Regions from separate parts of the Homo sapiens genome. Here all the other regions are linked to region 4. Evidence: promoter capture Hi-C in 16 types of primary human blood cells and fetal thymus (Javierre and others, 2016). All regions are on one chromosome and are shown on one strand. The core of a region is centred on a gene start or on the middle of the fragment in contact, and the rest is flanking DNA. Distances in the headings are between cores, read along the strand shown. Region 1 overlaps KCNJ6 (potassium inwardly rectifying channel subfamily J member 6). Region 2 overlaps KCNJ6 (potassium inwardly rectifying channel subfamily J member 6). Region 3 overlaps DSCR8 (Down syndrome critical region 8). Region 4 holds the start of KCNJ6 (potassium inwardly rectifying channel subfamily J member 6). Region 5 overlaps DSCR4 (Down syndrome critical region 4). Region 6 overlaps KCNJ6 (potassium inwardly rectifying channel subfamily J member 6). Region 7 overlaps KCNJ6 (potassium inwardly rectifying channel subfamily J member 6).

Region 1 (3,953 bases), core at 233-2,732, 240 kb after region 4:
CAGCAGGCTGCCCCTGGGCCTATCGGCCATAGCCCTAGAGATGGTTCAGGTCCCAACCCTCTTCCTCCAGCCTCTGCTCCATTTCCACCACTCCTCTTTCCCTCATGCTGTCTTACCTGTCCCCGTCTCCTCTCAATTCTTCTTCTCCTCCTTTGTTTTCTCTCTCTCATTTTGCATTCAATAATGAATATTATTGCTCATTAAAAACGTTTTGAGAATAATGTAAAAAGGAGACTTTTATAGCATTTACCACACTTAAAAGAAAAATCTGGCCTGGACAATGTAGCAAGACTCTGTCTCTACAAAAAATAAAATAATTAACAGGGCACAGCAGCATGCACCTGTAGTCCCAGCTACTTGGGAGGCTGAGACAGGAGGACCACTTTAGCCCAGGAGTTCGAGGCTGCAGTAAGCTGTGATGGTACCACTGCACTCCCACCTTAGCCACATAGCCAGATCCTATCTCAAGAAAACAGAGAGAGAGAGAAGAAAGAAAGAGAAAGGAAGGGAAGGGAAGGGGAAGGGAGAAAAAGAGAAAGAGAGAAAAACCTACCATCTCCTTACATGTGTATTACATCTTTATTTCCTTTTTGATTAGGTAAAAAGTCCAAGTGAAACAACCATAGCTGATAAGTTTATACTAAGCTAAGGATATACCATGTATCTTGAACTTTAACATTTTCAAGTAAAAAGAGATGTCAGAGAACCCAAACTGACTTATGAAAAAAGAAAAAAAAATTGAGGATGTCTTAGCTCATACAACCAAAAACCCAGGGGGAGAGGACTTCCGATGCTGCCGGTTCCTAGGCGCTGAGATGACCCCCAGACCCAGCTCCTTTTCTCCAGGTCTCCTGCTTTCCCTTCCTTCTGCATCACCGTCATCCTTAGACTACTTCTTTCATGGTAGCAGAAGTGTCCACCACATTTCAGGCCCCAACTTCTCACAAGCAGAAGAGTCAGGATCTCTTCCAGAAGCTTCCACAGAAAAGAGAAGCTTCCTTCCTAGAAGCTAAAGCTATATTTCTTTGCATCTCATTGTCCTTAAGGAGGTCATATGCCATTTCCGACCCAATCACTGGGGACAAGCAGATGAGCTCTATGGACTTGCTTAAGCCAAGCAGGGATCACCCTTAAGAGATGGGGTCAATCCCTCCTAGACTACAGGTAGAGAATGGGTCAAGACACAATTCCCTCCAGAGCAATTAAGTAAAAAAAAGAAACAGAAAGTATTCCAATTGGAAAGAAGTAAAACTAGTTCTATTCAAAGATAACATGATCTTATACAGAGAAAACCCCAAAGAATCCACAAAAATACTACGAGAGCCAATAAACAAATTCAGAAAAGTTGTAGAGTACAAGATCAACACAAAAAAAAATGTTGAATTTCTATACATAAGGACCTAGGAAGAAACAAACTCCGCATCTCGTACTATACTCTTACAACAGATAACACTTCCATGACTCCAGAGGGCTGTTGGGGTTTCTCCAACAACAACCAGTGCTGCAGGTCATTCTCCAGTGGACACCCCTGTGTGTTCCCTAATTCAGTTCAGCTCTGACACTGTCTACCTGCAGGCAGTGTCAGATCCCACAGGGTGAGGGCTCAGCCCCACAAGCCTGCCCCACCCCGGCAGATGCCAGTCGCAAGCACAGGTTGTGGCCTGTGCTTCTGACCAACTGGCTGTAAATTGGGAGTTCCCGCAACCCCATCCTGGGATTCAATTAATTTGCGAAAGCAGTTCACAGAACTCAGGGAACCACTCTACTTACACCTACCCATTTATTATAAAGGATATAATTAAGGGTACAGATGAGCAGCCAGAAGGAAGAAGGGTACAGGGCAAAGTGTGGGAGAAGAGGCAAGAAGAGGGGCACGCCCTCCCTGGGTTAACCCCTTCCAGGAACATCCATGTGTTCAGCTTTCCAGAAGCCCCCAGAACTCAGTCCTTTTGCTTTTCTATGGAAGCTTCATTATGTAGGCATGAGTAATGATATCATTGGCCATTGGTGATCAACTGAACCTTCAACCCCCTTCCCTTCCCTGGAGGTTGGGGGTGGGACCGAAAGTCTCAACCTTCTAATCATGCCATGGTCTTTCAGGTGGCCAGCCCCCACCCGGAAGCTATCTAGAGGTCTGCAGCTGCCAGTCATCTCAGTAGCAAACAAAAGACATTCTTAACACTCCAGAGATTCTAGTGGTTTTAGGAGCTATGTATCAGGAAATGGGATAAAGGCCAAATATATATTTCACAATATCACAATACACTAGCAATGGACAATTCAAAAAGGAAATTAAGAAAACAGGCCCATTGACAATAGCATCCAAAAAATGAAATAAAATACCTAAGTTCAAACCAAGGAAGTGAAAACTCATATACTGAAAATCATAAGGTCCTGCTGAAAGAAATGAAAGAATATCTAAATAAATGGAATAACATCCTGTGCTTATAGGTTGGAGGGCTTAATATTATTTTTGCTTTGTTTTGTTTTGTCTTTTTGAGACAGGGTCTTATTCTGTCACCCAGGCTGGAGTGCAGTGGCACGATCTTGGGTGACTGCAGCCTCTGCCTCCCAGGCTCAAGTAATTCTCCCACCTCAGCCCTCCAAGTAGCTGGGACTACAAGCATGCACCACCATGCCCAGCTAACTTTTGTATTTTTAGGAGAGACATGGTTTCACCACGTTGCCCCGGCTGGTTTCAAACTCCTGAGCTCAAGTTATCTGCACACCTCAGCCTCCCAAAGTGCTGAGATTACAGGTGTGAGCCACTGCACTCAGCCCAGGCTTAATATTATTAAGATGGCAGTACTACCCAAAGTGATCTGCAGATTTAATGTTATCCCTGCCAAAATTCCAATGGCCATTTTGCAGAACTAAAAAGCCCAATCCTCAAGTTCATATGGAAATGCAAGGGTCCCCAAATGGCCAAAACAATGCTGAAAAAGAACAAAATTAGAAGATTCACACTTCCTCATTTCAAAACTTACTATAAAACTATAGTAATTAAAGCAGTGACTGAATATAAGGCATAAGGATGGACATCTAAACCAGTGGAATAGAATTTAGAGTCCAGAAATAAACCTGCACACCTTAGAATAATTGACTTTCATGAGGACACTAAGATCATTTAATGGGAAAGAATCCTCTTTTCAACAAATGGTGCTGGGACAACTAGATATATACATGCAAAAGAATTAGTTGAAACTCTACCTCATACATTTGCAAAAATAAACTCAAAATGCATCAAGACCTAAATAGAGGAGCAAAAGCTGTAAGACTCTTTAGAAGAAAACACAGGGGTAAATCTTCATGACTTCGGATTCATCAATGGATTCTTAGCTGTGACACCACAAGTACAGGCAACAAAAGAAAAATATAAATATAACTTCATCAAAATAAAAAACTTGTATGCATTGAAATACATTATCATGAAAGTGAAAGACAACATACAGAATGGGAGAAAATATTTTCAAATTATTTTCAAATATTTTGAATATCCATCTTAACCATGTTATTCCAGCTACAATTCTGTGAAGACATTTCAGAGTCTCTGCATATTTCCTTATTGTAAGCTCCAAACAGTAGATTCAGCATCATGAAAATGTCCAAAGCATTGTTGTTTTTATCCCTGCATTATAGCAGAGATGCATATGCACATTCACACACACACACACACACACACACAACACACACAGACTTCATGCTCCCCAACACCACCTACCATCTCCCTAAAGATACAAAGAACTGATTGGCATCAAGCAGAGATTTCTTTGAGGCTTCCCTGTTTTGTTTTCATTGAGCTTTGAATTTGTAGTATGTCAGCAAAAAAAGGCAAACTCTGTAAACTACTTAAAGAGGTTTATTCTGAGCCAAATATGAATGACCAGGGCCCAAAGCACAGTCTCAAGAAGTCCGGAGAACATGTGCCCAAGGTGACTGGGTTACGGCTTGGT
Region 2 (3,700 bases), core at 746-3,245, 220 kb after region 4:
AATGTTTAGATAATCAATGTAAAGAAGTTTTATTATATTTGTTCCAATGTTTGTTTTTTTTAAAAAAAAAATGGTAAATAATTGAATGAAGATAGTGGGCACATGGAAGAAATGAAAAGCGTGAAAAGTATTTCTGCAGGAATGAGTTCAGGTTGAGGGAAGAAAGTGGGTACCGCTGGAGGGAGGGCATGAGGAAGCCAGACTACCAAAAGGTAACAGTTCTATGAAAAACTTCTTTATAATGATTATCAAAGTGTTACCATTTAATCTATTAGACCATTTGTCTGTGGGCCTGGGGAGCTCTGTTCTAGCTCATCCAATAGTGTTTCTGCTTTTATCCCAAAATCACGTATCAATTTTTTAAATTTTCACTATGTTGTATCCCCCCACCCCTCCCACCTCTCTTCCTGCCCACTCTCGTCTGAGAGGATCTAGGTTCTCAGGGGCGAGCACCTGCCTGCTAGAGAGGCCCAAGGGGCGTACGGTGGCCCCTGCTTCTCTCCCGGCTTGTCCCAGATCCACACAGCCCACCTTGAGGGTTTGATTTCCTGGTTCTCCTCCAGGATTCTGTCTTATGGACTCATCCGCCGTGGTTCATTCCTGCATACTCCTTCATTCTGCAACTCAGCCAATCCCTGGGCCCCTCCTTGTGACAGAGAAATTTAAGACTCCCATCCTCCAAATGGTGATGTGAATCAAGAGATGGCAGAACTTACAGTCTTGCTTATGTGGGCATTGAACGAGACATTGCTTGGATGTTGCCTAAAACATCAGTTCTACCTTCAAGTGGCAAGAAAACATAGCACTTGGTACCATCTATCTCGAAAAATTAAGACATTTAAACAGGTCATCTGATGGATTTCCAAGTTGGATTCATGTTTTTAATTTCCTGCTGTCAAAATAGAGGGATGTTTCCCTCTACCCATTAACCATTTTTAATAAAAGCTTGAAAACATGATGGAACATACACAGGGTGCGGCAGTCACTAGTGACACTTTGTAGAAGCTCACTTACAGAATGAGTTTCTTTGTGGCTCTTGTCAACCCAAATAAAGATTTGCGTCAAAAACTGTCCCTTCTTGGTATCTATGTTAAGAGTAAAGCTTAGCATATCTAATGCTACCCTTTCGCTCTAAGTTTAATGAAATAACCATTTAGGTGAGGGGAGTGGCCTTAGAAATTTGGGCTAAATCAATGGTTCCTTGGCAGATCGCTGAGTAATTTGTGGTTATCAATGGAAACATTTTGTTTGTTAGAGAATGTCACATTGTCAATATTCTATGTCTCTTTGAAAGTGAATTTGAAGGGTTCTGCCATTTTCCTGATTCACTCCAAAGCCAGAACCTAAACTCTATTTCAGAGAGCAGGAAGGCCCCAACCATTGGGCCCCAACATCCTGGCAGAAGAGAATGTTGTCTCTCAGGCCAGCACATGTCTAATCAAGACACGGTTCCTATTGGCCCCCCACATTCCCGTCAGTTTCCAAATTGTTGCACTAAAATGGGGCTTGGGATAGAGGCAACATCCTTACAGCAGATCAGTGTGGGAGCTGGGACTGGCACTGCTGAGGAGAATATATTGATTCTTCTGTCTACTTTAAATCCACACACTTTAAGTACCATTCACACCCCTAATGCTGCTCCTTGGAAATTATTCTGAAGGAAAAAAAAAATGCATTGCCTTTTTTTCTCAAGGGTAAAGGGAGAGGCAGTTGAAACACAAATATTAAATGGGAATTTGTCTGCCACTCTACGTTTTTTGTTTTTTGGGATTTTTTGGTTTTTGTTTTTACTTTAAGTTCTGGGATACTTGTGCAGAACATGCAGCTTTGTTACATAGGTATACATGTGCCATGGTGGTTTGTTGCGCCCATCAACCTGTCATCTAGGTTTTAAGCCCCGCATGCATTAAGTATTTGTCCTAATGCAATCCATGGAAATGGACACACATATCAAATTCCACTGCCTCAAACCCCAAATGACTAAGTGCTGGAATGCCACGACATCCCAAACTGCTTGAAATAAATGGGCCATCAGCTGAGGTTAGAGAAACCTTTTTTTTAATTATACAGCAAAACGTCTCAAAAAATATGTTTGATCCAGAGTGGTGGATCATAGCAAAAGCACATTGAATGAATATGTTCATGTCCCTGTCACTATTTAACTTAGCGGGGCCTGCCTGCAGGGTCTAAGGAGTTCTAACGGCTGTGCTTTCCTGTGAGCACAGGTGCGCGGTTACTCACACAGATTCCACCCCTGCCGAGTGGCCTCCAACCATGTCTCACTATATCCCACTGTCATATCCAAAATCAGATTTTGGATTTGCCAAAAACTGAGCAAAGCTAGAACAGAGACCGTAATCACTGAGCAGTGGCTGAAGATGTTCCTGGAAACCATTCTAGCCAGAAGCCAAACTGTGAATCAGGAAGATACGGGACACCTCAGAGGAACTCCTTAGAAGTCGGTCTCAGCTGATGCTCCCATTCAATAGGTGTCAATAGTTCCCACCTTCCAACAAGAGCTGCCAGAGCTCTGAGCAGGCTGTGCCAAGCAGGCTGGGAGGGTGTCAAAATGCCCAGCACTTCACCCTCATTGAAGATAAATCATCAGAAAGTTAAGATTTGGGAGCATCACAGCCCCCAATAAGGGAGGGGAGGGAGATGTCTCTCACTTCCAGTCTAGTAAATGAAGACCCTGTGGGAATCCTTAGAGGTCCTGACAGAGGCCCCCCTACACCTGAGCCTAGGGGTGCCAGGAAATTGTTGTCCTAGCCATACCTGGCCATCTGCCCTTGCAGTGGCTTCAGGGGTTGGAAACCCTGCACTCTCAGCCCCACACAATTCAATTATCTGTCTCTGTCCTTATTCCTCAAAGGTGTGACCTAAGCTTGCTTAGCTTGGAATTGAAAAAGTAACCTGGGCCAGGTACGGTGGCTCATGCCTGTAATCCCAGCACTTTAGGAGGCTGAGGCAGGTGGATCACGAGGTTGGGAGTTCAAGACCAGCCTGGCCAAGATGGTGAAACCTTGGTCTCTTCTAAAAATACCAAACTTAGCCGGGTATGGTGGCAGATGCCTGCAATCCCAGCTACTCAGGAGACTGAGGAAGAGAATTGCTTGATCCCGGTAGGAAGCAGAGGTTGCAGTGAGCCAAGATCACGCCACTGCACTCCAGCCTGGGCAACAGAGCAAGACTCTATCTCAAAAAAAAAAAAAAAAGAAAAGAAAAAAGAAGTAACCTGAAGTATCACCCATTAATATGTTACTTTGATGTACGAATATTTATGTCCAATTTCTGTTTGGAAAAGGAGGGGCTTTGTGGAATTTTTAAAATTCACATTTGTGCCCTGGCTGTGGCCATAGATATTCACTGAGCCAGGTGTCATGGTTGGTAGCTGTGGCACCATGCCGAAATTTCAAGAAAATACTCTTAGGCCTTTGGAAAATTGAAAAATCCTGAGGTTTCCTAAGACTGTCACAGCTGAGACCTTTTATCCCAGCAATGCCCATTACAAATGCAAGCATGCAGCTCCACAGTAGACATTGGCTGGAGGTGAAAATCTACCCCACAGAGCACCCCATCATTTCAATGCAAACAGACAGTTTATTGCAAGTCTTATGGTAGGCAGTCCTTGAATGATTTTAATTAACTTTTTATGTATCATTGACAAGTCCTTGAAGCTTTATAAACTTCAATACAGATT
Region 3 (4,212 bases), core at 54-2,553, 210 kb before region 4:
CATATGAAAGATCTTTAATGAAGCAGCATAGAGCATCTCCAAATAATAATGCTCAATGCATAGCAGTAAAATAAGTGCAACATTTGGGTTTATTTTAGAGTGGTGTGGTATTAGAGGTGTTAGGGCTTCTTTCCAGAGCAGGGGGTGGGAGTAGAAAGGGAAGCAGTTGGGACATTTGTTCATGTCTTTCCGGTTTATTATGCTTAAGCAGAGTAGAATTGTCCTAAAATATCATGTTAAGTAACCAACCACTAGGGCTCCCAGATGCCATAACATTTGACAGCCGTGATTTTTAACACTTGCAGTCCCTTCTTAGCTGTTGAATTAATTAATGATACCTTATTAAAGCCAATCAAGCTTTGAAGATGTTTAGAATGAAAACTTAACTTTTTTCCCTCCTTCTTTTTTTCCCCCCACTTCCAGGGGGTAGTATCACTCAGAGTAAAATCTGGCCATCGTTTAAGCATTCTTAGGCAAACATTAGTCTCTCGAAAATGTCAGATGGGTATACTAAGAGAGGGCATTTCAGACTATGAAGCATGAAATGTCAAATAACCTACCACAGAGTACTAAAGTGACAAATCACACGTAGGCTGCACACAATTTCTCTATTCTGCACTGATAAGAATGAGAGATTCTTTTGAGATATACCTTTAGGTCACGACACCATGCTGTTGTGGACAAAATGGGGCTCAGAGATTAACTATGGATTATTGTAAGAAGGAAATAAAATTTCTTTCTTTTTTTTTTTTTGAGCAGGGTTTCTCCATTTCAGTACTCCTGACATTTTGGACTGGATTATTCTTTGTAGATGGGAACCGTCCTGTGTGTTTTAGGCTGTCTAGCAGCAGCTCTGGCCTTTACCTACTAGAATCCTGTACTAGGGGACCCTCCCTATTGTGATAATCAAAATGCCCCCAGACACTGCCAGATGTGCCCTGGAGGGGTGGGGAAAAGAGACTAAAATCTGTGGATTAGGACCACTGCCCTAGAATAATGTGGCCTCAAGTGGAACGTATGAGAAAACAAAGATCAGAGATCCCCTTTAAATTCTAAATACAGTATGCAGTTAAAGTTGAAAACATGCTATTTAAATCCCCAAGTATTCCTTTTTTGTCACTTTAAATGTATTTGCAAATAAATGAGAACATCTATAACTATGATAAAAGTCATTCTGAAATAGCAACATTTACAGCATTTGCTTCTGAAACAAAGACAATGTTTGAATTTCCTTTGCAAATGCACAATAGGCATGTTCACATTTACTTCTTAGAATAAGAAGAAATTAGCCTCAGTAAAATGAGCATAAAATAAAATTATTCCCTCATAAAAATAAATAAATGATCTCATGTTGCCTGTTTTCTATATAATTATACCTAGAGTTGTACATGATTGCCAATTAATTGATCCCTCTTTAAGCACAAAATCTCCATTGCTCCACTCCCTTGAAATTTCCTTGGCTGTTATATTTTATGGATACTACCAGACATTGCTACCTACAAACAAGATTGATTCTTTTCTCTCCATGTCTAGATGGTTCTCTCTGAAGTGTATAGTCGGTTGTTGCTATTTTAATGCTGTTCAGTAAAGAGAAATGCTACACCAACCAAAGGAATATTCTTGCTTCTTAAGCCAGCACAAACCACCAGCATTTGGGTGTACATGATTATGCTTTAAATTTCTTAAAATTTCTCTGCTTGTGTAAAAAAATTCAGTTGCCCATACATCTAATCTGCAGAGCCTGGGGTTTACAAACTTATAAACTTGCACTGGGGAAGCCATCCACAAGTTTATACTTAGGCGAGGGGTGTTACTTCAATAAGGAACGGTACTACAGAGCTTCAAATATCCTTCCCCCCATGTTTCCATTCCAGCCCTACTTCAACACACACACACGCACATGCACACTCACACAGAACCTTATTTCACCCATTTTCCCAAAAAGGCACTGTAAACAAGAATAAGAACACTTATTTCCGTCACCATTCAGAATATCATACCCCAGCCCCCTATGGACCACAGCTCCTAAGTGAATGTGATGTCGCCAAAAGCCTTTCTGGGCACATGTGGCTTGATCTGTCGGATTGAGATCTGGCATCTCCCGACATGTAGTTCAGACGGAACATCAGAGAGACTCCTGAGACACACAGACACACTGCCAGCATCACACCTGGCCTTTGTTTCCTGCAAGGAACACCAAGGTCATGCCTACAGTCCAACCATCTGATGAATCTGACAAGGTAAGCTTGCTGGGGCCCCAGGTGCCTGGAAATTGGGCCAGAGGAGTCCCACATTCCCTCTTCCCGGCATGTGTCCCTAAGCTAAAGGAGCAGTGCCCCAGTCCAACAGAGCTGAAGGAAACTGACATTCGCTGGTTCAAACCCCTACTGTCAAAGAAGAGGAGACAGAGACCAGGAAGTTTAAGAAAAGCATTCGATATCCTACACTTAACAACTCCAGAACAGATGACTGTATTGAGAACCAAGACATCTGACTTCATTTTGCCTCATTTTTTGTGTGTGCAAGGAACTGTTCTGAGACCCACTAGGTATACAAAGATGTATAAATTATGGACTCTGCCCAAGGAGCTTACAACAGTGTGAAAAAAATAACTCAGAACAAAAGATGCAAAGAGACCAAGCCCATAATTGAAGAAACAACACAGCAGGTGTTCAATTGTGCAAATTAAATTATATGCATGTCAGTTAGTCTTGTTCAGTGGGACTGATTCATGTCTCTTCAGGCTAAGGTGCTCAGGAACATTTATATAGAGACAATTAAATTTAAACTGGACTTTGAAGGATGAGCAGCTTTTGACCAGGTGCAGAGGGAAAGAGAAGGAAATCCAGATAGGTAAATAGCAAGTCAGGGCCAAGAGAAACAAATAACCCAGTTTGTTGATTTAGAGATATAAGGGTGGTAAGGAAGAATACTCATTATAGAGCAGGATATCTTGGGCTCTAATTCTATGGCTGAACTTTGTCAGTCCAGTCGGTCATTCTTAAGCAAGAGATAACCCCACAGAGCCTCAGCTTCCTAACTGTATGTGCAGGTAGTAGTTCCAGCCCATGCAGTGGCAGAGAGGATTCAATGAGATTTCTTATACATCATGCAGAAGGCAACAGAAGCCTCTCTGTCCTTTGAATTCCCCCATCCCATGCTCTGGGGGAAGTTCAGCGACCACCCCAAGATTTCTGCAAGTATCCAATGGCTTATATGATTACTTTCCAGTCTCAAAACCTCTCTCTCCAGGGTCTTCTTCTCTCTTATGTCTCTCCTTTCCTGAGTTCTCTTGGCTCACATTGACCCAGCTTTGAGTGCCATGTGCAGAATGCCACAGTAATCAAGGATGGGAACACATGGAGTGTGAGTGTTGGAGGCAAGCAGAACTATTTGAAAGTTATTGCACTGACTGGGTGTACCAGTTTCCTAGGGCTGCCTTAACAAATCACCACTAACTGGGTGGCTTGAAACAGGAGAAAGTCCTTCACAGTTCTGGAGAGGCCTTCTATATGAAAGCATTTGCAGGGTTGGTTCCTTCTGGGGGGTGTGAGGGAGAGTCTGTTGGGTGCCTCCCGCCTAGCTTCTGGTGATTGCTGGCATTGCTTGACTTGTAGACACTCCAACTCTGCTTCAATCATCACATGGCCTTCTCCCCCTGTGTGTCTGTGTCTAAATCTTCCTCTTCTTATAAATATACCAGTCATTGCATTAGGGCTCACCCTACTCCAGTAAGACCTCATTACTTGATGATATCTACAAAGACCCTATTTCCAAATAAGGTCCCATTCCCAGGGTTAGGACTTGAACATATCTTTTGGAAGATGCATTTCAACCCACAACACTGAAGATAATCTAATAAAAGTCTGGAGTAACAACCATCAGTTATATAGGAAAGTTGGGAGACATGACAAGGTGTCCTGAGGACAAAATCAATTCATCCTCTTGATGTGACTTTGAGTGACAAGAAGGAGAATATGATGATGGTAGATTTTGAGCTTTGTTGTGTTTATAAGTGACAAAAATCCTGTGTATTACTTGGCAAGTGCATAATACTTTCTCCAGTAGCTGGTGCAGTAGTATCTAAGTTCCATGAACAGAGAAACAATTTTGCCTTGTGTCTACCCTTAATACATAGGCTTTCCACAAAATGTATGCAGGAGAGAGAGGAAAGGATAGAGGTAAGGGAGGACAAGGTGAGGTTAGAGAAGA
Region 4 (4,166 bases), core at 1,000-3,499:
TAATTTTACTAGCTAATAAGTCTCCATTACAGCTTTATATGTGGGAGACAAACCAGTCTCATCTGTATGACATAATCAATCAATTATAAAAGTCACTGTGAGATTTGGAGCACTGATTTACCCTGAAAGATCTTCTCCCCCAGGCCTTGCCTTCACCTGAAATCATAAAATAGATATATAAGTGAGATTTCAGACAAGCTAAACACAATGTAGTTTGAGAGACCAGGCTCTCAGGAGCTCAGAGGAGCCACAATTTGCAGCTCTGAAGCACAGCTCGCCTGATTTTCAGATGTGGCTGCAGTCTCTTAGTTACACCCATGCAGATCACTTTATCAGAACTCTACGGAATAAATGAATGAATTCAGTTAAGCCAATTGCTCTTGTCTCTGGTGTTTATCAAATCCCAGGCTGTGTTAATGGGATCCATCTCATTCAACACGTGCTCTTATGCCATTCACAAAGTGCTATTGCCCACATCACCCCGGCAGCTGTTTCAAGTAGGGGAGTTTTCAAAGTATTTGAAGGAGACAAATAGGTTACTTCCAACTCTTGACTTTCTTATTTAGTCTAATATCTTGTAAGAAAGATACTTTGTGAAATCATTCTACTGGTAAAAGTATATATCATCAAAATTAGCAGGCATACCCATAGCAGCTTCACAGATTAAACAGAATGCCCTTTACACAACTATAGTCAACATGGGTTGTTCTTTTAATGTTCTAAGGCTGTGTCCACCGAAATCCTGCATCTTGCATTTGTATTCCTGGTCTCTCAGGGATTATTTGGTTCAGTTGTTCTTTGTTTATTTGTAACACTATCACTAGATCCAGCAGGCATTGTGGAGCACGTATTACACATACTACAGATATTACACATACTCATATCTTCTGTATATGGGATATATGACTCAGAAGTAATAGCAAGTCAGATTACAACCTCTTAGGGAAAATCAACAGCAAATACAAGCTCACAGGCCGTGTGTACGGTTGACTTTTACATGACTTTGGATGCAAATTGACACAAACACCTCTCCATATTACAGTCATTTTTAGAGGGCAGACAGCATTCTTGAGGGGACCTGAATTGCTAGGTAATTAAAATGTATGTATGTAGAATAAAATAATCTTGGAAATAAGAGGTTTCCGTAAGCCTTCTCTCTAAAATAAGGTCACCTTCTTTGAGGTAGAGATTCTGTGCCTTGTGGAAGGAAAGCCACTTCATAAAGCAGCACAAGAATAGCCAGTTATTGAAAGGGCCATTATAAAATTACTAGCCAATGGTATTCGCTACTCTTACAATTTGTCAATCCATTCATCCCTAGGAAAAAGACAGCATAAAAGAGAGTTCTGTTCATAGGTAGAAGCAATTTATGGGAAGACTTTGGAAATGTAGAACCATTGTTTTTGATGACCATAAGAAAAAGAGGGGGTGCAAGAGGGGAGCACTATGAGGGGCCCCTGGAATAACAGCACAAAGCAAGTTAGATTCAAAGAGTGGAGTAGACCTTTGTCTAAGGGGCTTATCCTGACAAATTCAACTTTGAAGGCAGCCTGGGTCATTCTTGGAAAAGGCCATTCTTTGTCTCCAGTGACCCCAGAGACATCATATAAGGATGGGGTGATGATGCAGCAGCCGGGACCAGGTCCCAGTTGCAGTGGACAGGACAGAAGGGACTGAATGGGGCAGCAGGCTGGGGCGCCACCAGGTGCAAGCAAAGCTCAGGGATAGGGCCCCTCCCCTCCGTCCCGGCCGCTCGCTGCGCCCCCTCTGGGCGGTGCAGGCTCCGGCTCCCGCGCCGGGGCTGCCTCTCACGGATTTCAGCCCGGTGGGAGGCAGTGCCCAGAGCCTCTTTTTCCTTATCTCACAAAACCCTAAAAGCCGAACCCCTACAACCAGCAGACAAAACTGCTCCCCGAGCTTCGGCTCTTTCCTGCTTTCCAGGCGTTTCTCCGGGAATAACTTACTTAGTGGCACTGGGAGAAAGGTTGGGACTGGGGGGTCGGGGACCGAAACCCAAAAGATTCCCCCAGCATGGAGCACCCACGTTTCCAGTGGCGGGGGATGCACGTTGGTTTGTGCCCAGCCCGCCCCCACCAAGCCCGGTCCTCGACGCGCTGACACGCTAGCTGGCATGGGCGGCGGGGTGGGCGTCTCTGGGTCTGTGGCTCTGTCCTGCTCGCCCCCGCCCCTTCCTCCCGGACCGCGCCGGCGCTGTGCGGCTTTTTCCCCAGCACGCGGCGCTGCACTCGCTTTTATCTCGGAGCCGCGTCGCTTCGTGCGCTGCCAGCGGGGCTCAGCCAGTCGGCTGGAATTGAGTAGCATTCATTGAATCTGCGGATTTCATGACGTCTCTCTGCGTGGTCCACCACTTTTCTCCTAACCGGGGATTTTTTTTTTCTTCTGCCACTCTTATCTTTCCCCACTTCATTCCACCCAGTCTCCCTCCCCCGTCCCTGCCCAAACGCGCGCCCCTCCGCCCCTCCCTTGGCCCCAGCGCCCAGCCCTGCTCTCCGCGCTCGGCCAGAGGGAGCCAGTCCGGAGACGGCCGCACCTGGCTGGAGAGGCTGGGCGGGCGGAGGGGTGGAGACCCGCGGACGCCGGGAAGCCGGACCTGGAGCCGGAGCAGCCGCGAGCAGAATGGAGTCTCCTAACAGCCTCTCGGTGCTGATGTGAAATTTGACCATCTGATTCCAGTTTTTTTCTTTTCCTTTTCTTTTTTGCATTTCCTTCCCTCGCCATCCGTCGTGTAGTGAATTGTTCAGTCTTGCTCCGTTTCAAGAGAGGAGATCATGATTGAGTGAAGCCACCCCGTCCGCAGCCAGGTAAGCGGTGCGCTGAGCTGCTCGCAGGCGAGGAGCTGGCGTCCACCTGGGCGAGGCGTTCCGTGCTCTCGGGTCCCCGCGTCCCCTTCCCCAGCTCCGCCGTCGCCGCAGGCATCTCCACTCTCATGAGAAACATTGTGCCCAAGTCAGCCGAAAGGCGAGGGAGAAGCCGGTTACATAACAGAAGGGGAATCTGTTTCATACGGTTTTCATTAGCGACTGAAACTCGCACGGGGGGCGGGGGAAGGAGGGGTCTGCATCCCTGGGCTCGCAGAAACCCAGTCAGTTATTGCAGACATCATTTCAACATCCGCTGGCAAAGACTTAAATGCACTGATTAACTGACAGGTGCGGCTTGTGATGTAGTCATTTACAGTTGGGAAAAGCCTATTGTCTTTGTGGAAGGCAGTCTTCTTGTTCTGCTTTGCATGGAGAGGAGAGGAGACAACACGAAAGGGAGGAAAAGTGAGGGTTGGGGAGAAACATGCGGAGAATGGGAAACAGAATACTGTAACTCCTAACTGTTCTCTATCCTTAAAACCGAAGATGTGCTAGCATGACTAAAAACAGTGAATAGGAAGATCTTCCTAGGAGTAAACTGAATTATTTTGTAATTGGAAGGGAAGAAAAAACACTTTAGATAAAATGAGATGTGTGTGGCATTTAGAGGACTGGGTGGCTGTGGATATTTGCTTCCCTGTGGATATATTTTCATTTTCATCAAAACATTAAGCTTGGATTAGTTTTTAAGTGAAATAACATCAGTATTCCCAAAACCCAATAAAAGCCCAGTGGATCCACAGGTACATCTGTTGTACTAGGTGCAATATGGAGAGATTGTCAGGGGGAAAATATATCTTAATAGAAACAGCCACAGAGGGTGAGGTTAGTGGAGAAACAAAATACCAGAATTTTCCAAAGAATTCCGCCTCCAACCCCCAAAAAAAGGAAGAGAAAAAAAAAAAAACCCCACAACTCCAGTGTTTGGGAGTTGGAGATGTATTATATGTTTAGAGTGTTTCCCAACTGCTGTTATCCAAAGTCTGTCGGTCCCGGGGAGCCCTACGGTACAGGGAGCAATGCCACATCCTGCTAGCCCTGTTCCCTGCCTGCCTTTCTTTTGCTGAAAAAAAGAAACGGAAAAGGGTGATGCCCAGGAACTGCTTAGGGAGAAAAAAGGGCTTGCTACAGTCAGGGCTGAGCTAACTGAGCTTCGCCCATTTTGCCTGGAGAAAGAAAAAGAGCTCGAGTCTCCATGGCGACCCAGGTGGGAGGGGAGACCGCAGCTCCAGTTATAGGGGAAAAAAATTGGACAAAACTTTCCCGGCTCCAGGCAAAGGAATA
Region 5 (3,833 bases), core at 905-3,404, 170 kb before region 4:
TCCATGTGTTCTCATTGTTCAATTCCCACCTATGAGTGAGAATATGTGGTGTTTGGTTTTTTGTTCTTGCGATAGTTTACTGAGAAGGATGATTTCCAATTTCATCCATGTCACTACAAAGGACATGAACTCATCATTTTTTATGGCTGCATAGTATTCCATGGGGTATATGTGCCACATTTTCTTAATCCAGTCTATCATTGTTGGACATTTGGGTTGGTTCCAAGTCTTTGCTATTGTGAATAGTGCCGCAATAAACATATGTGTGCATGTGTCTTTATAGCAGCATGATTTATAGTCCTTTGGGTATATACCCAGTAATGGGATGGCTGGGTCAAATGGTATTTCTAGTTCTAGATCCCTGAGGACTCGCCACACTTTTCAATTTAAAGTGCAGATGGTGGAGTTTTGCTTTGAGGAGTTTCTGACAGCATTTGGAATCACGAAAAGGCTTTGGGGTTTCCTGACGTCTCACTTAAAAATTACTCGTTTTTAGTAGCAAGTACAAATTCTAGATTTCAAAGTTTGCCAACTTTCCTTGAATCTTAATTTAAAATACATAATGCCAACTTCACATACGCACATCACTTAACAGTTAACAAAATCATTTTATCCTCATAATCTTTTTCCAAGCTACACAAAAAAAATCCTATGAGTATTACCATCCTCATTGTAGGGGTAATTGAAGTGTGGCTGACAACTGGACAGTCTTGGGAGCACCTGTTTGACTAACTTTAAGGCCCATAAAGAGGCTTCTTTCTGGGGATGAGGCTCTGACCCATAGAGCTAGACCCCATGGGTTATGTGTACCACAAGATGTGATGTTCAATTTTATGGGTCAACTTGCCTAGTCCACATTACCCAGAAATTTGATCAAACACCAGGCTGCATGTTGCTGTGAAGATGTTTTTTTAATGGACTCTAAGTAAAACAGGTTACCCTTGCTATAGTTTGGATATTTATCCCCTCTAAACCTCATGTCGAAATTTGATTACTAGTCTTTAAGGTGGGGCCTAATGGGAGGTGTTTGGGCTGGGGAGGGTTGGATCCTTCATGAATAGATTGATGCCGTCCTTGAAGAGGACCAATCTAAGCCTTGTCTTTTTCCCTCTTATAATTTTAAATTTGGAAAGGATAAATTAAGGCCAAGAACTGTGGGTTCAGAGTTAAAGAACCAGCAGAAAGTCTACAAACTTCTATGACTAAGGTTCCTGGGAATGTACTGGTCGTCCTTTCCCCAAATCTGACATGTTTGAAGTTTCCTTCAAACTAGAAGATTCAAACTAGAATCTTCCAGTATCTTTGCTCTCAAAATTAAAAGCACATAGTCTCTCTTTTTTTTTCTTTTGTTATTTAAAGTTAGCCAGAATTGCTTTTTATTCTTTGCAACCAAGATAAGCTTTGCTTTTACGGCACATATACGGAATACCTCCATGTTTTGTTTGGTGTTATAGTCTCCCTCTGGTTGGTGCGCCCCTTAGATAAAGAGGTCGTTTTTCTTCCCAGTCTCCTTATCTTCAGCACCTGGCAGTCCCTGACACATAGAAGGTCTTCCGTATATGTTTGCTAAGCCAAAGCATTCGTTTTTTATTGCTGCCTTAACAAATTGCCACAAATTTAGCATCTTAAAACAGTGTCTATCTATTATCTCACAGTTTTGTAGGTTAGAAGTCCACACATAGTGGGGTTCAGCTTGTTCTCTGCTCTGGGTCTCATAGGCCAAAATCAAGGTATTAGTGGGGCTGTGTTCCTTCCTGGAGGTTTGGGGAATAAATCTGCTTCCAAAGTCGTTCCGGGTGCATTCCCTTGCTTGCTTCCTTGCGGGCATCGTTCTCGGCTTCTAAAGCCCACCCACATTCCTCGGTGGTCCCTTCCTCCATCTTCATCTTCAAAACTAGCAATGGCAGACAAAGTTCTCATGTTTCCAGTCCCACCAGCCCTTCTGCTGCATCTCTCTGGCTTCCTCTTCTGCTTTTAAGAGCTAATGTGATTACATTGGACCTACTCAGTAACCCAAGATAATTGCCATATTTTCAGGTCAGGTGATTAGCCTCCTTAATTTGGGTTGCAAAGTCCCTTCACAGCATTACCTGGATTAGCGCTTGATTATATAACCAGGGGACGACATCTTAGAAAGACAGCTTTAGAATTCTGTCCACCATAGTGAAAGAATGAGGTCAGTTCCAGATACGTCCAAGCCAGGCAGGAACGGGGCGCAGCAGCGGCACCCTGGCTTCCTCTCTTCCAGAGCCCTTTGCTTCCAGTTAACCTTATCTGTGTGGCTCCCAGGGAGGAGATTAGCTTCCAGCAGTACTCTGGCCCTGGTCTTTGGCTTTTAAAGAACATGGAGGTCTTTACTGCCAACAATAAATGCATTCTACCAATATTTTTTTTCAGCAAACGATATATTAAAAATATAATACATCATGTCCAAGTGGAGTTTATTCCAAAAACTACCAGACTGATTTAACATTCAAAAAGCAGCCAGTGTAATTAACATATTAACAGACTAAAAAGGAAAAAAAAATGTATATATTCAATAGATAACAGAAAAAGCATTTGACAAAAGTCAAGATCTATTCGTGAAAAAAAAAACTTGTGATCACCTAGGAACCTGCCTTTAACCAATAAAGGATATTGAAATAATTAATTATAATTATACCTATTAGTGAAAGACTTTCCATCTTTTCCCCTAAGATCTTCAACAAGTCAAGGAGGTTCTCTCACTCCTGGTATCCAGCATTGTTCTGGGTTCCTAGTCTGTGCAATATGGCAGAAAAAAAAAAAAAAGCATACAGACTAGAAAAGAAGAAATAAAACTGTCTCTAGTTATAGATATTATTCTCTACAGATATTATTCTCTACATACAAAAATCTAAAAAAGAAACTAGGGAATAAAAGAAAGCTTCTAGATTTGGTAAGCAAGTTGATCCAAGTCACAGGACACAAGGTCAACATACAAATATTAATTTATATACACTAGAAACGAACCACTGGAAACCAATTTTTTTAAAATAAATTTACAGTGGCTCCTAAAGTGAAATACTTAGGTATAAATCTTTTTTTTTGTTTAGTGTGTAGAATCTGCATGCTGACAACTATAAAAATTCTGATAAATCAAACAAGATCTAACTAAATGGAAAGATATGCCATGGTCAAAATTAGAATACTTAATATTGTTAAGATGTCAGTTCTCCTTAATTTGATCTATAGGTTCAATGCAATCCCAATCAAAATCCAAGAAAGCTTTTTTGGTAGCTACTGAAAAACTCATTCTAAATATATATGGAAAAGCACAGTATCTAGAATAACCAAAACAATTTTGAAAAAGAAGAAAAATGTTGGAAGACTCATAGCACCAAATTTCAAGACTTATGATGACTCTACAATAATTAAGATAATATAATATTTTTAAAAGGCCAGACATACATATCAATGAAACAGAAATGAGAACCCAGAAATAGATCCACGTAAGAATAGCCAATTAATTTTGGACAAAGGTACAAAATTAATTCAATGTAGAGAGAATAGTATTTTCAACAAATGGTGCTGGAATTATGAAAAAATTTCATATTCATGTGAATATTTCATTTATATTTTTAAAAAGAATATTAAACTATGCTTCATATTTTATACAAAAAAAGTAACTCAAAGTTGATAATAGACTTATTTAAATTGTAGAACTATAAAACTTATAGAAGAGAACATGGAAGCAAATTGTAATGACCTTTGGTTAGACAAAAAGTATTTAAATATAATACCAAAGCACAATTTATAAAAGAAAAAATAATGGCCAGGCACAGTGGCTCATGCCTGTAATCCCAGCACTTTGG
Region 6 (4,060 bases), core at 1,313-3,812, 140 kb after region 4:
ACTGCCCTGGGCACCTGAGTGTAGATAAATATCCAGCTCCACACTTAGGTGGACAAGGGCAGAGGCAAGAACTAGAAAAGAGGTGTCCAACTTCCCCAGTAGGGCCACAGCCTGACTTGTCCACCCTCTTCTTCCTTGATAAAGTTAGTAGCAATACAGATTTTCTGTTGCATAGATTAGAATATGAGGCAAAAATGAATAGGGTGGCTGGAGAACCAGAATTAGGGTCCCCTGGGTGGAGGGAGTTGTGGCCATGAAGGAGGAAAGCCACACGGGGGAACCAGCCCCAGGAGAAAGGACAAAGGACCAAGAGGTTGCAGTCAGCAAGCGTGGCCCTAAGGGAGCAAGTGGGCACTAAGTATATGTAAAGGTTTGCAGGTGGTAAGCATTTACAGGGAGGGGGGTGTGTTATGTGTTTATATATTATGTGTGTACATTAGTTTCCTGCTGATGCTATAACAAACTGCCATGCATTCTGTGGATTAAAGCAACAAAAATTTTGCTTCTGCCAGTTCTGGAGGTCAGAAGTCCTAAGATGAAGGTGTCAGTAGGGCCAGCATTCCTTCTGGGGTTTCTCAGGGAGGACCCTTTCCCTTGCCTTTTCCAGCTTCTAGAGGCTACTTGCACTCCTTGGCTCATGGCCCCATCACTCTGACTTCTGTCTCTGTTCTCTCTCTCTCTCTCACTCTCTTTTCCCACCCCATCCGTCTCTCTCTGACACTAACTCTCCTGCCATGCTCTTGTAAGGAGCTTTGTGATTACACTGGGCCCACTTGGGTAATCCCGGATAATCTCCCCTTCTCAAGGTTATTGACAGAATCACATCTGCAACGTCCCTTTTGCCATGTAAAGTAACATGTTCACAGGCTCTGAGGATTGGGATGTGGACGTCTTTGGGAGGACATTATTCACCCTACCTACCTATATGTAGGTAGGTAGGTAGGTATTTCCAGGTGATAGCTATTTGTTCTCTGCCTCTGGGGCTGTGACAATACCGGGCTTTGAACTGTTAGCTATGACCAGGGAATGATCAGAGGTTACATAGTTGAGGGAAAGGCCACAGAATCTTGACCTAAAATACTATGCAATCTTATCCAAGTTACTTACTCTTTCTAGTATCGGTTTTCTCATCTGTAGAATGGGATAATGATAGACACTACCTCCATTATAATGATTAAATACATTTATGTTTATAAAGTGCCTAGACCAGCGCCTGCCTCATGGTATACTTTAGAGGCATGTTGCTATCATCATGTTCCTCATCATCATAATTTTCATAATTGTTGTCATCATTAGTGCCTTGTATGCTGCAAGCCTCTCTGAAGTATGAGTTATCTCTTTGTCATTAGTGATAAATCCTGTTTCTAAGACAAGAAGAGTCACTTCCTAGGATTCCTGTGTCAAGAATGCAAAATGCATCCCTTCTTTCTAAATCTAACACTGCCAGGCTCTGAGAACACTTCTCTGTCACTGCGCCCTTACCCCAGCCTCTGCCAAAGTTCGGATTATGCTGGCACACGAAAATATTTGTCACACAATCGAGGCAGCTCATATGCTCTGCAAAGGAGAAGGATCACACTTGACATCCCTTGGGGAACATTCACCATGTCAAGAAGCTTCCGTCATGACTCACATTATCGAAAGCTCCTTTTGACTGATGCCGGATGGGTGGTGGTGTGGAGATGGGAATTCTGCTGTTCTAGCCTGACTGATGGAAGCAGCCGGCGTGTGCTGTGCAATAGACTCGACATAGGAAGGAGCCAGGCCTCAGCCAGTCCCAACTTGTCTTTTCCATTCCCCTAACGTGATATTTGGAGCCAAGACCCTTTGTTGGAACATGAGGCAAATAGGCCATGTTTGTTATTTCTTTCTCTTTCTCCTTTTCTCTCATTCTGCCTTTCTATCTAATTAATAAACTTTATATTTTTATTTTAATTTTTAATGTTTGTGGGTATACAGTAGCTATATATATGTATAGGGTACATGAGATGTTTTGATACAGGCATGCAATGCATAATAATCGCATCATGCAAAATAGGGTATCCATCCCCTCAAGCATTTATCCTTTGTGTTACAAACTATCCAATTATGTAGTCTTTTAGTTATTTTAAAATGTACAATTAAATAAAACCTAGTATTTCATGCTAAACTTTATTTTTAAGAAGAGTTTTAGGTTTATGGAAACATTGAGTAGAAAGTACAGAGCATTCCCCTATTACCTGCACTCCCCCACCCCCACCACATACACACACACAGTCTCCCATTACTAACATCTTGCATTCGTGTGGAACATTTGATATGATTGTAACAATACTGATGAACCAGTATTGATATATTATTATCAGCTAGAGTCCACAGTTTACATTAGGGTTCACTCTATGTTGTACATTTTGTGGGTTTGGACAACTACATGATGTTTAAGTAGCCACCATTACATTATCATACAAAAGGGTTTCACTGCCCTAAAATTCCTCTGGGTTCCACCTGTTCATCACTTCCTCTATCTCCCTAGACCTCTTGCAACCGCTGATCTTTTTACTACCTCCATAGTTTTGCCTTTTGCAGAATGTCATATAGTTGGAATCACACAGTATGTAGCTTTTCCAGACTGGCTAGCTTCTTTCACTTAGCAATGTGCATTTAAGCCTCCTCCAGGTCTTTCTGTGGCTTAAAAACTATGTCTTTTTATTGCTGAATAATATTCACATTATTTCCTTATCTTATATTTTCAAGGTAATAATTCTTATCCACGCTTTCTCTCCCAACCTCAAATAGGCAGAATGACCTCAGACCAACAAAGGAAAAGTTGGCAGTCAAGGACACCACCTACTGCCTCACCACCCCACCCACTTCTGTGCAATGAGATGATACAGAAAGTCTCCACATCTTGGTTTAAGATATTAATCCTGTCCACCTAAATTACACTCAGTTAAATGGAATCACATCCAGAGACATACACTGTTGCATTCTTATTTCAAGGGTAGAAGATTTTCAGTACATACAACCTCACTTGTGACTCCAAAAAGTTCATCTCAGTGCCACACGAGCATACAAGCAAACCTTCAAGGTTACAGTCATCTCAGAATCACTAGCACATGTGCTTTTAGAGAGACATTAGCCTCGTCTCAAGGAACTCATTCCTGCTTCAAACAGAGGCTCCTGGGACCAGCCAATTTTTGAACTCCCTCAGGTTCCCCAAGTGGCTTTTCTTCAGTCATACTCCCTATCTGACAGCCTCTGTAACTCTCTCACCAAATGAGCACTAAATTTCTAAAGCAGAGAAAATTTGCTTCCTAGAAGTGCAATGGGGTCTATGGATGGATGCAATCAGACAGGTTAGGGGTAATAATTGGACTTTTGACAAGTTCATGGTCCCCCCAAGGGCTGATTAACACACCTCTCCCCATCTCATTGCTATACCTTGAAATAAATGAACCAACAGGTAGCACCATGTTGACCTGGGAAGGTTAGAAGAGTATGAACTACAGAGCTGCCCTCACAAAGCTTGGAATCCAGTGGGAGAGATGAGTTTCATTATTTGTGAAATGGGCCAGTAATACCACAGGAGGTCCTGTGCACACCTCACAGGACTCTTCTAGTTACAAGGATTAAATGAAGCAGGGTTGGGACTGGCCTGCAAAATTTACAAGGCCACCACAACTCAGGGATCAAGACAAGTACTATTTTAATGCAATGGTTTTAAAAGTTAACCCAAATGCAAAATTTTTATGATGAATAAAATATCTAAATTTTAAATAATGACAGGATCTCATCCAGCTCTTGCATGGCCCTGAGATGAAGCAATAGATGTGCACTTGGTCTGAAAACTGCAAAGAGCTGTACAAATGCCCGTTCACGTGCATTCCGAGCATGTGATTATGGCAGATCATAAGGGCAGTAACAATTCAGAGAAAAAAAGGGCTGCGTGTGGATGGCCCCAGGTGCTCATGAGCTTGACAAATGGGTCAGGTTTACAGAGGCAGAAGGAAGGAGGGGGTGCTCCAAGAATAAGTGGGGGGTACACATGCTGGGGAGGGAGGGTACAGGAGATGGGAACATG
Region 7 (3,960 bases), core at 174-2,673, 180 kb after region 4:
GACATTGCGCTCCCATCAACCGAAACCTGCCTTATGAAACCTTTTAACTAAAATTATTTCATTTGCTTTCTAGAAAAAGGACATGCAATTTATTCAATGCATCAGACCATTCAAAGACACATCAAGCTTTCTTTTAAAAGAAATTTCTTATTTTATCCTAAAAAACCCTAAAAAAGTGAATATTTTTCAGGGTAGAAGTTGGTAGCATAAGCTGTTGACCAACAGTCCCTAGAAGAAAGATGCTGAGATGCGGAGATGTTTGGCCACTGGCCAAAGAACAGGTACCAAGTGATTATCTGAGGACCTGAGTCTTTGAAACCCCAAATCTAGTTAGTGCATGTCTCCTCCACAAAACCCAGGCAAAGGAAATGCCCATCTCCGAGAGCTCAAATAAAACATGGCAATGATTACAGAGAGCAGACTCCTCTTCAAAAGACCCCCGAAATACCAACGGCAGATTTCTCCAGAACAACACAGATGCAATGAAGTGCAAAACATAGGCCTTTTGCATTCCACTCAAGTATCGCCAGGAATTTAAGCCACGTTTAAGTAAAAGTAATTCTATTTTATTGATGCAGGAATTAGTATAATCACTGAAATACATCCAGAGGGTGCAGCCTTTATAGGAAAAGAGGAAGTCAGCATTAATTTGTTCAAAATGCTAACACTTAACTGCAAGCACAAAGTTAAACAACAGGACGTCTATAGAGTGTGCATTAAAGGTGAAGTCAAGAGGGAAAATGATGCAGAGAAATAACAGTTTTCTTGTAGAATTAAACATACCTTGTTAGAGCAGGGAAAATACCCTTGAATGCTTGCTTGCCAGCCCCCCCTTTTCTTGCTGGTACCAGGTGGAGCTACCCAACAGGTGTTGAGTTGTGGGGATCAGTTTGTTCTTAACCCTCAACTATGTGGTCACTGCTCTGGGTGAATTACCTGGGACCCTTTTTTCTCCTTCAAAACCCAGTTTCTGTCATCCCCAGGAGAGGGACAGCAGAGAAAATGAAATTCAATTTTCCACTTGCTAGAATTCTTAAGAGAAGCGGGTTTGTGGGAAGTGGGTTGGAACATCTGTCTAAAATTGGAACTCCGGCTAATGTGAGGGTTTGGATTGACTATTCTTTCCTCTGTCGTGAGAACCCATGACGTGGTGGAATCAAAGCAAATCCAAATCGGTCTTGCCCCAGAAAATTGACGAGGAAACGTCCTGCCCATCAGTCATGCAGAGACTAGTTCTTCCGAAATAGCTTCCCCGTTCCTCACTCTAAAGCTCACCAGACCTTTTTAGAAGATTTGGCTTTCCACAATTCTGGAATCTAAGAGAGGGCGACTTGTGTCTTAACTGGAGTGGGAAAACCAAGCAATCACTTTCTCGCTTCTCTCTGCCCCTCTTCAAGACTGAAAAGTCTGATCTAATTTATGGACACTCCAGGATAGGTGACCACAATCCATTGGAAAGACTGGAACAACTGTCACATTCTGAGCAGGGGTGACCAGTCTGGCCAGCCCCACACACCCTGCTGTGCCTGGCATTGTGTCTCTCAGACAGGGAGGGGCCCATCTTCTCTCTGAGGGCAACGCTTTGACCTTCATTCTGTTTCTTCCCAATCCCTGGGAGATCTTGTTCTTGCTTTCCCTCTAGAATGTCCCACTGCTTCATTTCTACTGGTTGCTTCCCCTCCCTCGTTTGGAAAACTAGGTGTCATGCTTGTTTTCCCCAGCCACGCTGCCATCTCCCTTCCTCATCTAAGATGAGTGTGTCTTGCAGCTTCAGCCATCATCACCCTCTGTCCCTGCAGTCGAACTTCCATCCTGACCACCCTATTCAGAGTCTCTGGGAGTTTCCTTCCTTGCTAGGAAGGGCCTCTCCCTTGCTGAATGCACCACCTTGGCCTCCTCATCCTGGACTCTTCTTATCAGCAGAGCCCCCTCATTTCCACTAACTCCTCCGCCTTCTCACTGCCTGCACCCTCTGCTCCTCCTGAGCACTATCTGTGGATGCTTCCTGAAGTATCTGGTGGTCTCGATTCTTGATTGTTGCTCTATACTCTCATCCTCTGAGACAGCCCATCTGTCTGCTCAGCACCCTTGGGTGTTTCATGCTTCTGTGCTGTTTGGTTAATAAAAAGTACCCTAGACTTAGAGCAATCACCCAAGACCAAACCCAATTGCAGCTGTGTAACCTTGGGCAAGGTAGCCAGCCTCTCTCAGATCAATGATGCTGCCTACCACACAGATTTATTAAGGGGAGGGAATAAAGCTGAAAACAGATGTGAAGCTACAAAGCTCAATGCCGGCACATAGTAGGTGTTCAATAAATGTTCATCCTATTCCCTAGCTGCGAGTTCCCCTTCCCAACTTATGATTTTGTAAGACACCAGGATCTTCCCACTTACCAGATCTTAATCTGCCATCAAATCTTAGAAAGTCTTTTTTTCTCTATTAGCCTTATCCCTTCTCCTCCATCCCCAGCATCCTCTCTCTAGTGTTGACCCATATCCCAAACACAAGCCCCTTAAATCTTTCACTCCATTATTTCCACTTCTTCTGCTCCACTGGGGTAATTTACTCTATTAACACAGGAGTGAGGCAAGATTCTTCTTGTTGCCACTTTTTCTCACCTTGTACACACATGCAGGCACACAAACACACACACACACACACACACACACACTTCTCTCATCTATCTGCAATGGCAGAAAGGAAAGAAGACAAGCTTCAGAATGGGACCAACTTGATGGAGGGTTCAATCTCCTATCCCCACCGAATATTAGACATGTAAGCTTCAGCAAGTGACTGAACCTTATGCACCTCCACTGCCTCATCTGTAAGACGGGTCAATACTCCCCCTGTGGGCTGTTGTGCCCTGCCCAGTACTTGGCACATAATAGATATTCAGTAAGGGTTGGCTTTTTCCCTTTCACACATCAGAGCCACAATAATTTCCCACCTCCTTTGTGATGCCTTTGCCAATTAGTCCAGCCACCGTTGGCCTCTGTCTCTGATGCACTAGAACATTCTTGGCCTCTTGTCCACAGTGTAGAATGCAACTGCACATTGATATGGGGCACTATGCAGGTTTTGTGTTACCAAGCAGGCTCTTAGCTTCCAGATGGGTCTGCCCATCTGTTTCTTAGATTATTTCTGGATTTCCCACAGTTTCCAGGACAATGTTGAGCTTATAAAAATAGTGATTATTGTAGTTACAAATTGTGTACCTTCTTCGACCCAGACACTATCATAATTGCTGTCATTTGTTCAATGGCTGCTGTGGACCAGGTGCCATCCTTGCAGGATTTTTTTCTTTCTCACAGTAACTCTTCAAGGTAGGTCTTATTATTTTCATTATGCAGTTGAGGAAACAGACTCTGAGGCAGAAGTGGCCTGAACAAATACTTGCAGATTGGAGTTGGGAGAACTGGATTCCAACCCAGGCCCACCAGGCACTATAGCCAAGCACCTTGTCACCAGGCTCCCAAAGTTCATTATGTCATTTCATTCTCCCAGCAACCCAGCAAGGTGGACATTTCACCCTATTTTGCATATGAAGACTTAAGGCTGCGGGTCCCTTGGCTGGTGGGCAGCAGAGCTGGGATTCCCCAGGACTGGCTGTCTCCAAGCTCCACACTGGAAGAATCAGGAGCAATAGATTTCTTCTTGCTCTCAGAAGGAAACCACCAACTCCACAGTCCCTGGGCAAGACAATAGCCTGAAGCAGCCACTGCTTCAGGGAAACACAGAAGGAGGAACGGACAGCCTAGGATCCCAAGGTCTGGGAGCTCACTCCAGCTCTGCCTCCTGGCAAATCTGTTGGCTTCCCTGGGCCTCACTTTCTTCATGTGTTCATCTAAAAAAAAGGAGGATGAAGTAAATGACATCTGAGGTTGCAGGACTGCTGCTAGCCCATACAGTGCCTTTGTGCAAATTACCACAGGTGCCCTTTCCTCTGGGTGGACTCAG

Evidence for each region. Contacts are between HindIII fragments. The CHiCAGO score rates a contact against its expected background, and 5 or more counts as called.
Region 1: a contact is called between a fragment that was not itself captured here and the fragment with the promoter of KCNJ6 in region 4, in 1 of 17 cell types (M1 macrophages). The highest score is 5.0, in M1 macrophages.
Region 2: a contact is called between a fragment that was not itself captured here and the fragment with the promoter of KCNJ6 in region 4, in 1 of 17 cell types (endothelial precursors). The highest score is 7.9, in endothelial precursors.
Region 3: a fragment that was not itself captured here is called in contact with the fragment with the promoter of KCNJ6 in region 4 in 1 of 17 cell types (endothelial precursors); the score reaches 6.9 in endothelial precursors.
Region 5: a contact is called between a fragment that was not itself captured here and the fragment with the promoter of KCNJ6 in region 4, in 1 of 17 cell types (endothelial precursors). The highest score is 5.0, in endothelial precursors.
Region 6: a fragment that was not itself captured here is called in contact with the fragment with the promoter of KCNJ6 in region 4 in 1 of 17 cell types (neutrophils); the score reaches 5.2 in neutrophils.
Region 7: a contact is called between a fragment that was not itself captured here and the fragment with the promoter of KCNJ6 in region 4, in 4 of 17 cell types (M1 macrophages, M0 macrophages, M2 macrophages and 1 more). The highest score is 7.7, in M1 macrophages.

The regions. Positions count from the first base shown.
Region 1 is chr21:37,669,310-37,673,262 of GRCh38, reverse strand. The region is part of intron 3 of KCNJ6 (potassium inwardly rectifying channel subfamily J member 6); the gene reads left to right. All of the region lies in intron 1 of KCNJ6-AS1 (KCNJ6 antisense RNA 1), which reads right to left. Among named protein-coding and RNA genes, the nearest start is that of KCNJ6-AS1, 150 kb to the right of the region's middle. The HindIII fragment of the contact is 972 bases long and covers 997-1,968 here.
Region 2 is chr21:37,690,297-37,693,996 of GRCh38, reverse strand. All of the region lies in intron 3 of KCNJ6 (potassium inwardly rectifying channel subfamily J member 6), which reads left to right. The region is part of intron 1 of KCNJ6-AS1 (KCNJ6 antisense RNA 1); the gene reads right to left. Among named protein-coding and RNA genes, the nearest start is that of KCNJ6-AS1, 170 kb to the right of the region's middle. The HindIII fragment of the contact is 1,782 bases long and covers 1,105-2,886 here.
Region 3 is chr21:38,128,517-38,132,728 of GRCh38, reverse strand. All of the region lies in intron 2 of DSCR8 (Down syndrome critical region 8), which reads right to left. Among named protein-coding and RNA genes, the nearest start is that of DSCR8, 9.2 kb to the right of the region's middle. The HindIII fragment of the contact is 1,888 bases long and covers 360-2,247 here.
Region 4 is chr21:37,914,540-37,918,705 of GRCh38, reverse strand. KCNJ6 (potassium inwardly rectifying channel subfamily J member 6) reads left to right here and starts at 2,249. Exons shown (of 4, transcript NM_002240.5): 1 at 2,249-2,822. The HindIII fragment of the contact is 6,207 bases long and covers 1-3,557 here.
Region 5 is chr21:38,087,541-38,091,373 of GRCh38, reverse strand. The region is part of intron 2 of DSCR4 (Down syndrome critical region 4); the gene reads left to right. Among named protein-coding and RNA genes, the nearest start is that of DSCR4, 32 kb to the left of the region's middle. The HindIII fragment of the contact is 1,506 bases long and covers 1,402-2,907 here.
Region 6 is chr21:37,778,756-37,782,815 of GRCh38, reverse strand. All of the region lies in intron 2 of KCNJ6 (potassium inwardly rectifying channel subfamily J member 6), which reads left to right. Among named protein-coding and RNA genes, the nearest start is that of KCNJ6, 140 kb to the left of the region's middle. The HindIII fragment of the contact is 1,888 bases long and covers 1,619-3,506 here.
Region 7 is chr21:37,729,815-37,733,774 of GRCh38, reverse strand. All of the region lies in intron 2 of KCNJ6 (potassium inwardly rectifying channel subfamily J member 6), which reads left to right. It overlaps KCNJ6-AS1 (KCNJ6 antisense RNA 1), which reads right to left. Exons shown (of 8, transcript NR_183540.1): 7 at 2,951-3,847. Among named protein-coding and RNA genes, the nearest start is that of KCNJ6, 180 kb to the left of the region's middle. The HindIII fragment of the contact is 2,590 bases long and covers 129-2,718 here.